4 separate regions of the Homo sapiens genome follow, and all the other regions are linked to region 2. Evidence: promoter capture Hi-C in 16 types of primary human blood cells and fetal thymus (Javierre and others, 2016). All regions are on one chromosome and are shown on one strand. Each heading gives the region's core, a stretch centred on a gene start or on the middle of the fragment in contact. The rest is flanking DNA. Distances are from core to core; before and after follow the strand shown.

What was found. Contacts are between HindIII fragments. The CHiCAGO score rates a contact against its expected background, and 5 or more counts as called.
Region 1: a contact is called between a fragment that was not itself captured here and the fragment with the promoter of DMRTB1 in region 2, in 1 of 17 cell types (M2 macrophages). The highest score is 5.6, in M2 macrophages.
Region 3: a fragment that was not itself captured here is called in contact with the fragment with the promoter of DMRTB1 in region 2 in 2 of 17 cell types (M1 macrophages and fetal thymus); the score reaches 5.9 in M1 macrophages.
Region 4: a contact is called between a fragment that was not itself captured here and the fragment with the promoter of DMRTB1 in region 2, in 1 of 17 cell types (M2 macrophages). The highest score is 5.3, in M2 macrophages.

The regions. Positions count from the first base shown.
Region 1 is chr1:53,770,888-53,773,587 of GRCh38, reverse strand. It overlaps NDC1 (NDC1 transmembrane nucleoporin), which reads left to right. Exons shown (of 18, transcript NM_018087.5): 17 at 1,099-1,259. It overlaps LOC124900439 (small nucleolar RNA SNORA58), which reads left to right and starts at 2,435; the gene lies at 2,435-2,570. RefSeq lists an enhancer at 2,488-2,700. The HindIII fragment of the contact is 325 bases long and covers 1,122-1,446 here.
Region 2 is chr1:53,458,078-53,460,777 of GRCh38, reverse strand. It overlaps DMRTB1 (DMRT like family B with proline rich C-terminal 1), which reads right to left and starts at 1,379. Exons shown (of 4, transcript NM_033067.3): 1 at 748-1,379. The coding sequence starts at 1,324. The HindIII fragment of the contact is 2,763 bases long and covers 61-2,700 here.
Region 3 is chr1:53,723,015-53,725,714 of GRCh38, reverse strand. All of the region lies in intron 2 of GLIS1 (GLIS family zinc finger 1), which reads left to right. Among named protein-coding and RNA genes, the nearest start is that of GLIS1, 15 kb to the left of the region's middle. The HindIII fragment of the contact is 1,471 bases long and covers 525-1,995 here.
Region 4 is chr1:53,749,951-53,752,650 of GRCh38, reverse strand. No RefSeq gene overlaps it. Among named protein-coding and RNA genes, the nearest start is that of GLIS1, 12 kb to the right of the region's middle. The HindIII fragment of the contact is 3,900 bases long and covers 1-2,700 here.

The DNA.
Region 1 (2,700 bases), core at 35-2,534, 310 kb before region 2:
TAGAATTGGTGCTCAGCTCTTTAGCAGGTCCCACTTGCATTTGTGAACGAGGATCACTAGATTTCTGAGGAAAGTCTCTCATGCAGAAGTTGGAGACTAAAGGGAGCAAAGGGGGAAAATCAGCTTGGAAGAAACTAAAAAACAAAAAAGCTGTCATCAGAATCCTTAGAAATAAGAAAGGATATTGCATCTTTGAAACAAAAATAGGATGCTAAAATTAAAAAGAACAGATGATGTTAAAGAGCTCTTGAAATTAAGAACTTGATGGCAAAAATAATTTTAATTATTTTTGTTTTCAGTTCTTTTGGTGGTTACATTCATAACTATAAATAGTACGCTTATACTGTTGTATCTTGTCAGTTTATTTTTCCATGGGGACCTCATGATGTAACAGTATCATAAATGCCTTATCTGAATTGAAAAGGAAGATAAACTATTTAGTGAATAACTATTTCTGTAAAGTATAAAGTTTTGGTCTTTTTTTTTTTTTTTGCTGAGGTCTTTTAATAAAGCTCCTCCTGGCTGTCACATCATAAGCAGAGTAGGACATCAGTGTTTGACTTCAAGCTTTGCATTTTCAAGGATATTGAATGATAGCTTCATTTCCAAGGGCAAGTCTGGATTTTGGGGGGGGCCTGGTAACTGTCATAGTAGCTGAGCCTCCCTATTGCATTGTTTATGAAACTATTTTGACTGTGATCTACAGTAAGAAATGTGTTACAGCATAGCTATAGATATGTGTATATCTCTCTGTATATATCCATTTGTATCTATCTCAAATCTTAATTCTTTGGACTGAAGTGACTTTTTTCTTTTTAATTTTTTATTTTATTTTATTTTATGTTATATTATGTTTGTTTTGTTTTGTTATGTTATGTTATGTTATGTTATGTTATGTTATGTTATGTTATGTTATGTTATGTTATTTTGAGACAGGATCTCTGTCGCCCAGTCTGGAGTACAGTGGAACTCCTGGGCTCAAGCAGTCCTCCCGCCTCGTCCTTCCAAAGTGTTGGGATTACACATGTGAGCCACAGCACCTGGCCTAGGTTGGCTTTCTTTATAATCTAAACTGATGTGTTTTCTTTCTTGGTGTAGGCAGTCGACAAGTACTTTAAGCTTCCTCATGCTTCCAGTAAACCACCCCGGATTTCAGGAAGCCTTGTGGACACTTCATATAAAACATTAAGATTTGCATTCAGAGCATCACTGAAAACTGCCATCTATCGAATAACTACTACATTTGGTGAACATCTGAAGTAAGTTTACCTGTTTTGATCCATGATGATACCTATTCTGGGGAGCTTTCCTTAGAAATAGGTATGGGAATGATAAGGCTCATGTGTTGAAAGTGTTCTTTTGGGACCTTGATGATTCTCACTGTAAACTTACAGCTTGGATGTGGACTTAATATTTATATTTTAAAATTTGGCCCATCATAAAGCTTTGGGGATTTCTTTCAAATGGACAAAAGAAGACAGAAAGTTATAAATGCAGCAGATTAATTATATATATATATTTAAATTATCAAAAGATCCTTAAGGGAGAAAAAAGAGCAGAAAACCCGAGTACCTTTCCAGAAAAGCATATTAAAACTAATTCTATTGTTATATCTTGGTCAGCAAACTGAAGACTTGGGGTGAGCAAAGTATTCCAGAAATGAATCCCTGGTGCTTTGTGATTCATGCTGGAAAAACACCAACAGATCACAACACCTTGAGAAACAGAACCAGAGAGAAAACCACAAATGCCAAGCCTGTTTATATTTAGTTTTATTCATGTTTACTGCTTTCCTCTTGTGAAATGATCTAGCTAGGCAGGATGAGGGATACTAGCTTAGTAACTAAACTGTATTTATATTTATCACAATTATAAATGAACTTTAGAAGACACGAGAGATTGCTCTGCTGTTTTTGTATGCAATCAATGAATAGTTTAAGACTTCCAATTTAAATTAAAGTTAAATAAAGTTAAAAATTCAATTTGTCAGTCACCCTAGCCACATTTGAAGTACTTAATAACTACATGTGTTTAGTAGCTACTGTATTGGACAACAGAAGTATAACATCTTTCCCTACTTCCAGAAAGTTTTATCAGATAGTGCTATTCTAGACAATACACTTAGAACTTAATGTTTTTTCATTTACTCTTTTCAAAGACCCTGTGAAGTGTAGAAATTATCATAATTGTACAGATACGAAAACTGAGGCATAGAGATGTTAAAATTTGCCTGATAGCACAATCTAGTGCGTATTAAACATGAACCTGAAATCAAGTCTTTCTTTCTCTTAAAAATCTTTCATCTTTCTATCTACAACACTAGACTGCCTCCAAGATATAAATTAGTATGTAGGACACATTCAGAAAATACTGATGAATTTAGAGAATGAAATAGATATGACATATATTAATGATAGAACAAAAGCAAGGAGAAGGGCATACCCGTAGACCTTGCCTGACTGTGCTCATGTCCAGGCAGGGGGGACATTGTATTCGAGATTAATTTGAAGTTCCTGCCAGCTTTATCCAGCTTAATCAGTGGCTGGATAAATAGCAGGACTGTAACATTCCCCTGGGGGAAAAAAGGCAAGAAGAAAAGGGGAGCATAGGGATTTAGATAAGAAAGCGATATAGGCCAGGCACAGTGGTCTATGCCTGTTATCCCAGCACTTTGGGAGGCCGAGGTGGGTGGATCACCTC
Region 2 (2,700 bases), core at 130-2,629:
CCACCACGGGGGAGACACCAGGAAAACGCGTCCGCACCAAACCCCGGGGCTTCTAAAGCTTCAAATGTACATGTGACTTGAAACTACTTCAATACCAAAAGCTCCAAGGCACAGGGAACAATGTAATTTATGTACAAGGTGAAGGGAGAAAAGAAAGGCAACATCTTTACTGACCAACTGTTCTCGTGTGTGGAGTAAAGAAGCAGGCTCCCCTCACCTGCACGTGGGGAAACGGAGGGAAGAGGTGCGCAGGCGCACTGGGCCAGGGCGGAGCTGAGGGGAGGAGCCTCCCGACCGCGAACCGGGAGGGAAGAGTGCGCAGGCGTCCTTGCGCTAACGTGCCGGCAGGAAAATTCTGTTATTCTGGAGGAGGAGCCTCCAGCCCAAGGAAATGGCGGGAAGAGGTGCGCAAGAGCAGTAGGACTCGGCTCCTCGAAGCCTCCCCCGGAGGAGGAAGCACTGCTAAGTCGACTGGACGCCATTTTGTTCTTGCATGCCGGAATGGCACAAACTACAGCTAAATGTTAAAAGCCCTCTGAACCGCCCATTCCTTTCTGTTTCTCGTTTCCTTTTTGCGAAAAGTTACCCAATCCAAATCCCTGTTCGAAGAAGGGTTTCTCAAAGCGGAAGGTCCGTTACCCGTGGAAAAACTTCTCTCCACCCCGAACCCCTATGCCAGCTCCCCATCCGGGCTGGCCTGGGCTGCCAGCTCCGGGAGTCGACCGCGGGACCAAGGCCACGACTTACCAAAGTCGGTGAACAGTGGGCCGGGCACGGTCCGCATCGGCCTGCGCAGGTCTAGGGGGCCAGGGTAGCCACTGCCTGCGGCCTCCGCCCCAAAAGGGGGTCCCGCAAGGCTGGGCATCGCCACGGCGGCTCGCTCGCTCGGCTCCACGTGGCTGCGGCCGCCCAGAACCGGCTGGAGGGCTCTCGGGCCGGGGTTCCGGCCCCGCGGGGGCTGCTCGAAGAAGCAAGCGGCCGCGCGGCCCTCGGGTCCCGGGTCGGCGTCTCCGGAGGGAGTCCCCGGGGACAGCGGGCGGAGGCTCGCGGCCGGGACGGGGACGGGGGCGGGGGCGGCGGCCGCAGCCCCGGAGGCCTGCTTGGGCCCCTGCGCACACAGGGCCGCCTCCTGCTCCTCCTCGGCGGCCTGCGTCTTGAGCACCTTCTGCGCGGCCATGATCTTCTGGCGCTCGGAGATCAGGTAGCACTTCTCGCAGAGGCACTGCTTCCAGCGGCATTTGCCCGCGTGTCCCTTGACGGGCACCAGGAAGCCATGGTTCCTGCATCTCGAGCACTTGGGGGTGCGCACCATTTTGTCGGCCATTGGCAGGGTCAGCCTTCGTAACACAACCACCACCTCTGGGAGCTGCAGAGCAAGTGGCGCTGGGATGAGCCGCGCCCCACAAGTCCCTCGTTCTGGGGACATTGGATACACTTGTAACAAAGCGGCTCGCAGTGTGTCCCGGGAACTGCAGCAGGAACCTTGCATTTTCCCTCCTTTTGGGGGGTGCACAGTTTGGAGAGTTTCTGTGCTTTGGGTAATTAGATGCAATGGATTGGGTTGAATAAATTCTTCATGGGATGCTATTGCATGTATGTCATTTAGCTTATCTGAAGTCTTAGGCATGTAATTTTCCAAACTCTGTTCCCGCCACCGACGGAAGGTATTTGTAACTTTATGAAAGGCGGAGTGATATTCAACGGTCCACAAATTTAAAACTCGGGAGGAATGTAGCTCTCGGTGTAGAAAAATACTGTAAGAGGCAAACTGTATTTCTTCTCCCCAAAGCTGCTCCTTCTGTGGCAGTTCACTTCTCTGCCCTGCAGAGATGCTTCCAGGATATTCCAGAATATTCTCAAGAGTTCAGTGCAGTGTGATGGTTGCTCAAGGGTATGCCCTTACAGTAATTCCCGTTTCTTGAGAGTCTTGATGTAGGAATGCATTTCTGGATGTTGATGCCTTCCAAAGTGAGCATACTTAGAATATTTTAAAGTAAAATAGACAGAATATTGTAGCACTAAGCCTGGCATAGTGTCCTGTGCCTGTAGCCCTAGCTACTCGTGAGGATCACTTGAGCCCAGTAGTTGGAGACCAACCTGAGCAACATAGCGAGACTCCTCTTTCTAAAAAATTAAATAAAAAATTCTGCAAGACCCCTCTTTCTAAAAAATTAAATTAAAAAAAATTTCTAGCACTAGCTTCAGTGATTGCTTAACCTCATCATGAACTTCGTTATCCTTGTAAAACAACCCAAATCTTGGGACATCTGAAAAGTTAGCACAAACGTCATAGTTTACCCGAGGGCATTAATTGTTTTTTTTTGTTTTTTTTTTTTTTTTTGAGACAGAGTCTTGCTTTGTCACCCAGGCTGTAGTGCAGTGGCAGGATCTTGGCTCACTGCAACCTCCGCCTCCCAGGTTCAAGCGATTCTCCTGCCTCAGCCTCCTGAGTAGCTTGGATTACAGGCGCCCGCCACCATGCCCAGCTAATTTTTGTATTTTTAGTAGAGACGGGGTTTTCGCCATGTTGGCCAGGCTGGTCTTGAACTCCCGATCTCAGGTGATCCACCGGCCTCGGCCTCCCAATGTGCTGGGATTACGGGCGTGAGCCACCGCGTCCGGCCATTAATTCATTTTTTAAAAACAAATTTGTGACACCCTGAGGCATCTCTCTCTCTCTCTCTCTCTCTCTCTCTCTCT
Region 3 (2,700 bases), core at 11-2,510, 270 kb before region 2:
TTGGTTGGTTTATCCATATTTATCGGATGCCCGCTGTGCTCCCAGTGTTGGGTTCTGCCCTGGGACACCATGGAGAACCAACAGATGGAGCCCTTGCCTCCTCGGAGCTCGCAGCCTGGAGGGTCGGTGTTTGCAGGTTCCCCCTTCAGGCTGGCCGGGTTTCCAGGCCTCTGTGCGGCATCAGCACCTTATCATTTGCTGTCTGTCCTAGGCAGACTCCAGTTCTCCAGCCAGTCTCAGCCTCATGACCTCAGACAGTCTCACCCAGCCTTGGTCTGCTGAGTCACAGAATGGAAACTGGTGCTCACTCCCCTGGCCAGGGTAGCATGAGAATCAGTGAGGTAGGGTGGAAAAGGGCTCTCTAGGTGGCTAACAATTGGGAACTCTAGGACAGGTCAGAACTTGAGTTTGCAGACCAGCCCTCTACAGGACACTGGTGGACACAGAGTGTTAAATCCTGGGCTTGAGGACTGCTTTGGGCAGCCCTTTTCTTGTACCTGTTGCCGATTCTGGTGGCTTAAGCTTTCTTCTTGGAGTGAATACCTACTCATTGTCTCAGGCAATACAGGCCAACAACTTTCCTCTTTCAGCAAGTCTGCAGGGTGTCTCCTGTCCCAGCTTCATACCTCTCCCTCCCCACTCTTCCCATTCCCACTCTCTCCATGGCTCTGGCTGCTATGCACTCAGAATACGGAAGAGCTATTTGCTGGGGTGGGGTAGAGAAAACTAAATTCCCATTGCTTGATGTTGGCTGAGCAGGTGGCACTGTTGGAGACTCGCCTCCTATTCCTCTTTCTCCTCCTCATTTTTTTTCATTATCCTACAGTGATCAATTGAGCATTGTTAGGTACTGGACCAATCATCTTTTTAAAAATGAATCATCTTAACAGCCATGCACCTGTAGTCCCAGCTAGTGGTGAGGCTGAGACAGGAGGATTGCTTGAAGCCAGGAGGATTGCTTGAAGCCAGGAGTTCAAGACCAGCCTGGGTAACATAGTGATACTCTGTCTTTACTTTTAAAATTTAAAAATTAGCTAGGTTGATGGTGTGCACCTGTAGTCTCAGCTACTAGGGAGGCTGAGGGGGAGGATCACTTGAGCCCAGGAGTTCAAGGATGCAGTGAACTGTAGTCAAGCCACTGTACTCCAGCCTGGGTGACAGAGCAAGACCCTATCTCTCAAAATAAAATAAAAGATCATCTTGTTTAATCTTAAAACTACCTTGTGATGTTTGCTTCTCCACAAAAACACTATGGCTATTTAGATGAATTACAATTAAATAAAATTAAAAATTTAGTTTTCCAGTCATACTAGCTACATTTCAAGTGCTCAGTAGACACATGGCTAGCTGGTAGCTACCATATTGGAAACTGCAAATATAGAGCATTTCCTCCGTCACAGAAAGTTCTGTTGGACAGCATTAGTCTAAAATATCATTCTTTAATGTATTCATTTGTTCCTCACCTGTTTCCTGACACTCTTGTCACATGCTAAAGTCTCTAGCATCCTTGGCCTCTACCTTGGGGAGCATCCAGTTGAGAGGGTGGGCAGATGGCCATAGAAGTGTTGAGATGGGGCTGTCATGCTGGCTACCAGTCCTGCCTCCTGTTGGAGATACACATGTGAGTCCTAGGATCTGTCCTATTCTCAGAGTGTTCTTAAGGCAGCACTGATAAAAGAGATCAGGGCAGTCTTCCATGAGAGGTAGCATTTGAGTGGCCAGACCTGGTGGGTGGCTTCTGCTGGTTCCTTAGCGGGTAACCCAGAGCCAGCTCACCCCTGGAAATGGAAACATGCTGACAGTGCCCTGAGCAGCAGCTTAAACGGGAATGGCAGAATATTGATTTATTCTTGTAGGTTCCTGGATTTTAACAAATTACTGAGTTTTTACTCCTAGTCCTTCTTTGGGAAGTGGCTGACCCTTTAAAGGTAATTTAATTTAATACTCTTTATTTTTTCCCACTCACGTGAGTACTATATACTTACTGTAGAAGCTTTGGAAACTATAGAAACATGGAAAGATGGAAATAATACTTGCCCAGAATCTCACCCCCCAGTAATGACTACTATTTACATTTTGGTAGATTTCTTTTCAGTCTTCTTTCTATGCTTGTCTATTAATATAGTTTTATATCATTGAGATCATTCTGAATATAGTCTTATTACTTACATTTAAATTTAAGGCCAGGCGCGGTGGCTCACCCCTGTAATCCCAGCACTTTGGGAGGCCAAGGCAGGCGGATCACCTGAGGTCAGGAGTTCAAGACCAGCCTAGTCAACATGGCGAACACTGTCACTACCATACAAAAATTAGATGAGCATAGTGGCACGCACCTGTGATCCCAGCTACTCGGGAGGCTGAGGCAGGAGAATTGCTTGAAGAACATGGGAGGTAGAGGTTGCAGTGAGCTGAGATCAAGCTGCTGCACTCCAGCCTGGGTGACAGAGTGAGACTCCAGCTCAAAAAAAAAAAAAAGTAAATAAATAAATAATAAGCTTAACATTGAACATAATAAACCTTTTTTATGTTATTAACATTCTTTGTAAAGATTCAGAAGCATATTTTTTATTTTTATTTTTTTTGAGACAGAGTCTCACTCTGTCACCCAGGCTGGAGTGCAGTGTCACGATCTTGGCTCACTGTAGCCTCTGCCTCCCAGGTTCAAGTTATTCTCCCGCCTCAGCCTCCTGAGTAGCTGGG
Region 4 (2,700 bases), core at 24-2,523, 290 kb before region 2:
GGGCAGAGACCTGAATGAGGTAAGGGAGAGAATATGTAGGTACCTGAGGGGTGAGTTCCAAAACACAGAACGGTCCCAAGGCAGGCATATACCTGATAAGTTCAAGGGATAGCAAAGAGGGCAGGGTGGCCAGGCGCAGTGGATGAGGTGGAGTGTGGTAATGTGAACAAGATGGGGGCCAGGACAAGCTCACTCAGGCCAGGTAGGCTACAGGAAGGACCTTGCTCCCGCTTCGAGTCAGGGACAGCCATTGGGAAGTTCTGAGCAAAGGAGTAAGATGTGTTGAATTACCTTTAAGAAATAATTTAGTCTGACTGTTCTGTGGAAAAGAGACTGGAGACCGTGGGTGGCAGGCAAGAATGAAAGAAGGTTAGGAGACCACTGCTGTAACCAGATGAGAGAGGATGGTGGCTGGGCCCAGGGTGAGATGCAGACAGATTTGATCTATTTTGAAGGAAGAGGTGACAAGCACTGCTGGTGGAATGGTTGTGGAGTGTGAAAGAGAAAGTCGCTAGTATTGACTCCAAGGTTTTTGGCCTGAGCAGCTGGTAGAATGGAACTGCCATTTAGTGAGATGGAGGAAGCAAGATGGGTTAGTTAAGTCTGGCTGCATGTAAATGAAAACTCAGAATAATGGTGATTTAAGTGACACAGTTATTTTTTTTTTCTCACATAAAAGAAGATCCAGAAATAGGCTGTCCAGAATGGCTATGGTGACTCCCTGAGGTTATCAGGGATTCAGGCTCATTCTAGCTCTCCACGTAGCCAGCCCCAAGGTGTGGTCCTGACTCTTGTGGTCCCACATGGCTCCTGGAACCACAGCCTTCATGCCTTCCTTCCAGGCAACAGGAAGAAGGAAGGGGAGGGAAAATAGCATCCTCCCTCCCTTTTAGGAACACTTCCTGAAAGTGCACATACTTAACGCTTAGCATCTCATTGGCCAAAGTGGTCCCATGGCCACATCTGGTTGCAAGGGAGTCTAGGAAATGTCTTTTAGAGGTTGATTGTAACCCATTAATAGAATTGGGGTTCTGCTACTGGAGAAAAATGAAAGGATGAATATAAAGGTAGGCTTCCAGCTGTCTCTGAGAGTTGGGTTTCGGAAATAATGAGTTCTAGTCTTATCTCTGGCACTATCTAGCTCTGTGAACTTCAGCTAAGATTTCACATCACTTATCTATTTCGACTGAAAAATCAAAGAATTGGACTGAATGATTTTGAAGTTCCCTTCTAACTGTAACATTGCATGAGTGTTTGAATTTGGGATGCAGTAAGGTAAGTTTGGTTTCATAAAAGAAATAAAATGTCTTTGAAGAGCGGATTATGCGAGATGTCTATTAAACGTCTTAAAACTGATTTTTTAATTGAAAAATTCATTTCAAACTTATTCATGAATACAATTCCATTCCTCTATTTATTAAAATGCTTTCTGGATACAGGTCTAGATGACTTTAATATGTGCCTGGAAAACAGCATAGGAATTACATAATACTAGTGTGTACTGGATGAGTCTTCTGTTTATTTTATAAGAAACATTTTAAATAAAAATAATCAACTATTCTGTTCCTTACTCCATATATGCATTTGGTTCAGCCTCATTTACCAACTTGTTGATCTGTTGAATCAATTTTGTACATGGGTTCATATCCACAAATTGCTGAACATGTTCGATACACATACAAAGTCCCTGCCTTCAAGGGGTCTGCAGTTTATTAGTGGGAATACAGTAAATACACAAATGGGTAAGTAACACAGCAGAGAATAGGTGCTCTGAGAAGGGCAATGACTCCACAGTTCACAGGAAGGAGTTATGGTGAAGGCTTTGTGCTTTTGGTGTTTGGTTGGGAGGGGAAGCCTTAAGTGGAGAAGGGGCCACTTGGAGATCTGGGTGGGCTGGGATGGGAGTGGTCAGCCAGGAAGGCATTCTAGGGGAAAGGAGAGGAAGGGACAGGTGACAGAGAATGGTCCAGATCAGCTGGAGATGAGGTGTGGTAGTGTGGTGGAAAGATGGTGGTATTTAGGGTCAAGCCTGACTCTGCCACTTGCTGGTTCTGAGGTCTTGAGCAAGTCACTTAGCCTCCTTGGGATCTCACTTCCACATCTGTAATAGGAAACAATACTACCCTGTTCATACGACTGTCCTGTGTATTGCTGTATGTACACAGCATTGTCTGCATTAATGTATGGAAAAGCACCTGCCACAGGGCCTGGGACTGTGTGCTTCCATAATAAGTAACAGGCCCTTCCTTACATATCTATAGCAAATATTGTCCGTTATAATTGTTTAAGCTATCAGATCTTATTGTCCTCATTAGCAGCATTTGACATGCATATTATAGTAAGTCTGATTCTGTTTCTCTATAAAGACAGTGATGAGCTGAGAGCCAATGAAAGTTTCTCTAGAAAAGCCATTGCAGCGATGAGCATGAGGAAGAGATATAGCTTAATGACTTGGTAATGGTGATGTTGACTTTGCTTCTGGAAACCACCACTGAGGACTAAGAATGCCTTGGGCCTCCCAGGGGAGGTTCCAAACCCTAAAACTGCTATTTTCCTAGATGCCCAGACATTGCTTCCCTTCACTCCCATCACCCAGGTGTATTAAGTTTGCCTCCTAAATAAAGCTATGTCCCAGCCACTTCTCCTGGAGTCCAGGCTCCTCATCTTTGGGACTTCTGACTGTGCATTCAGCACCTACTC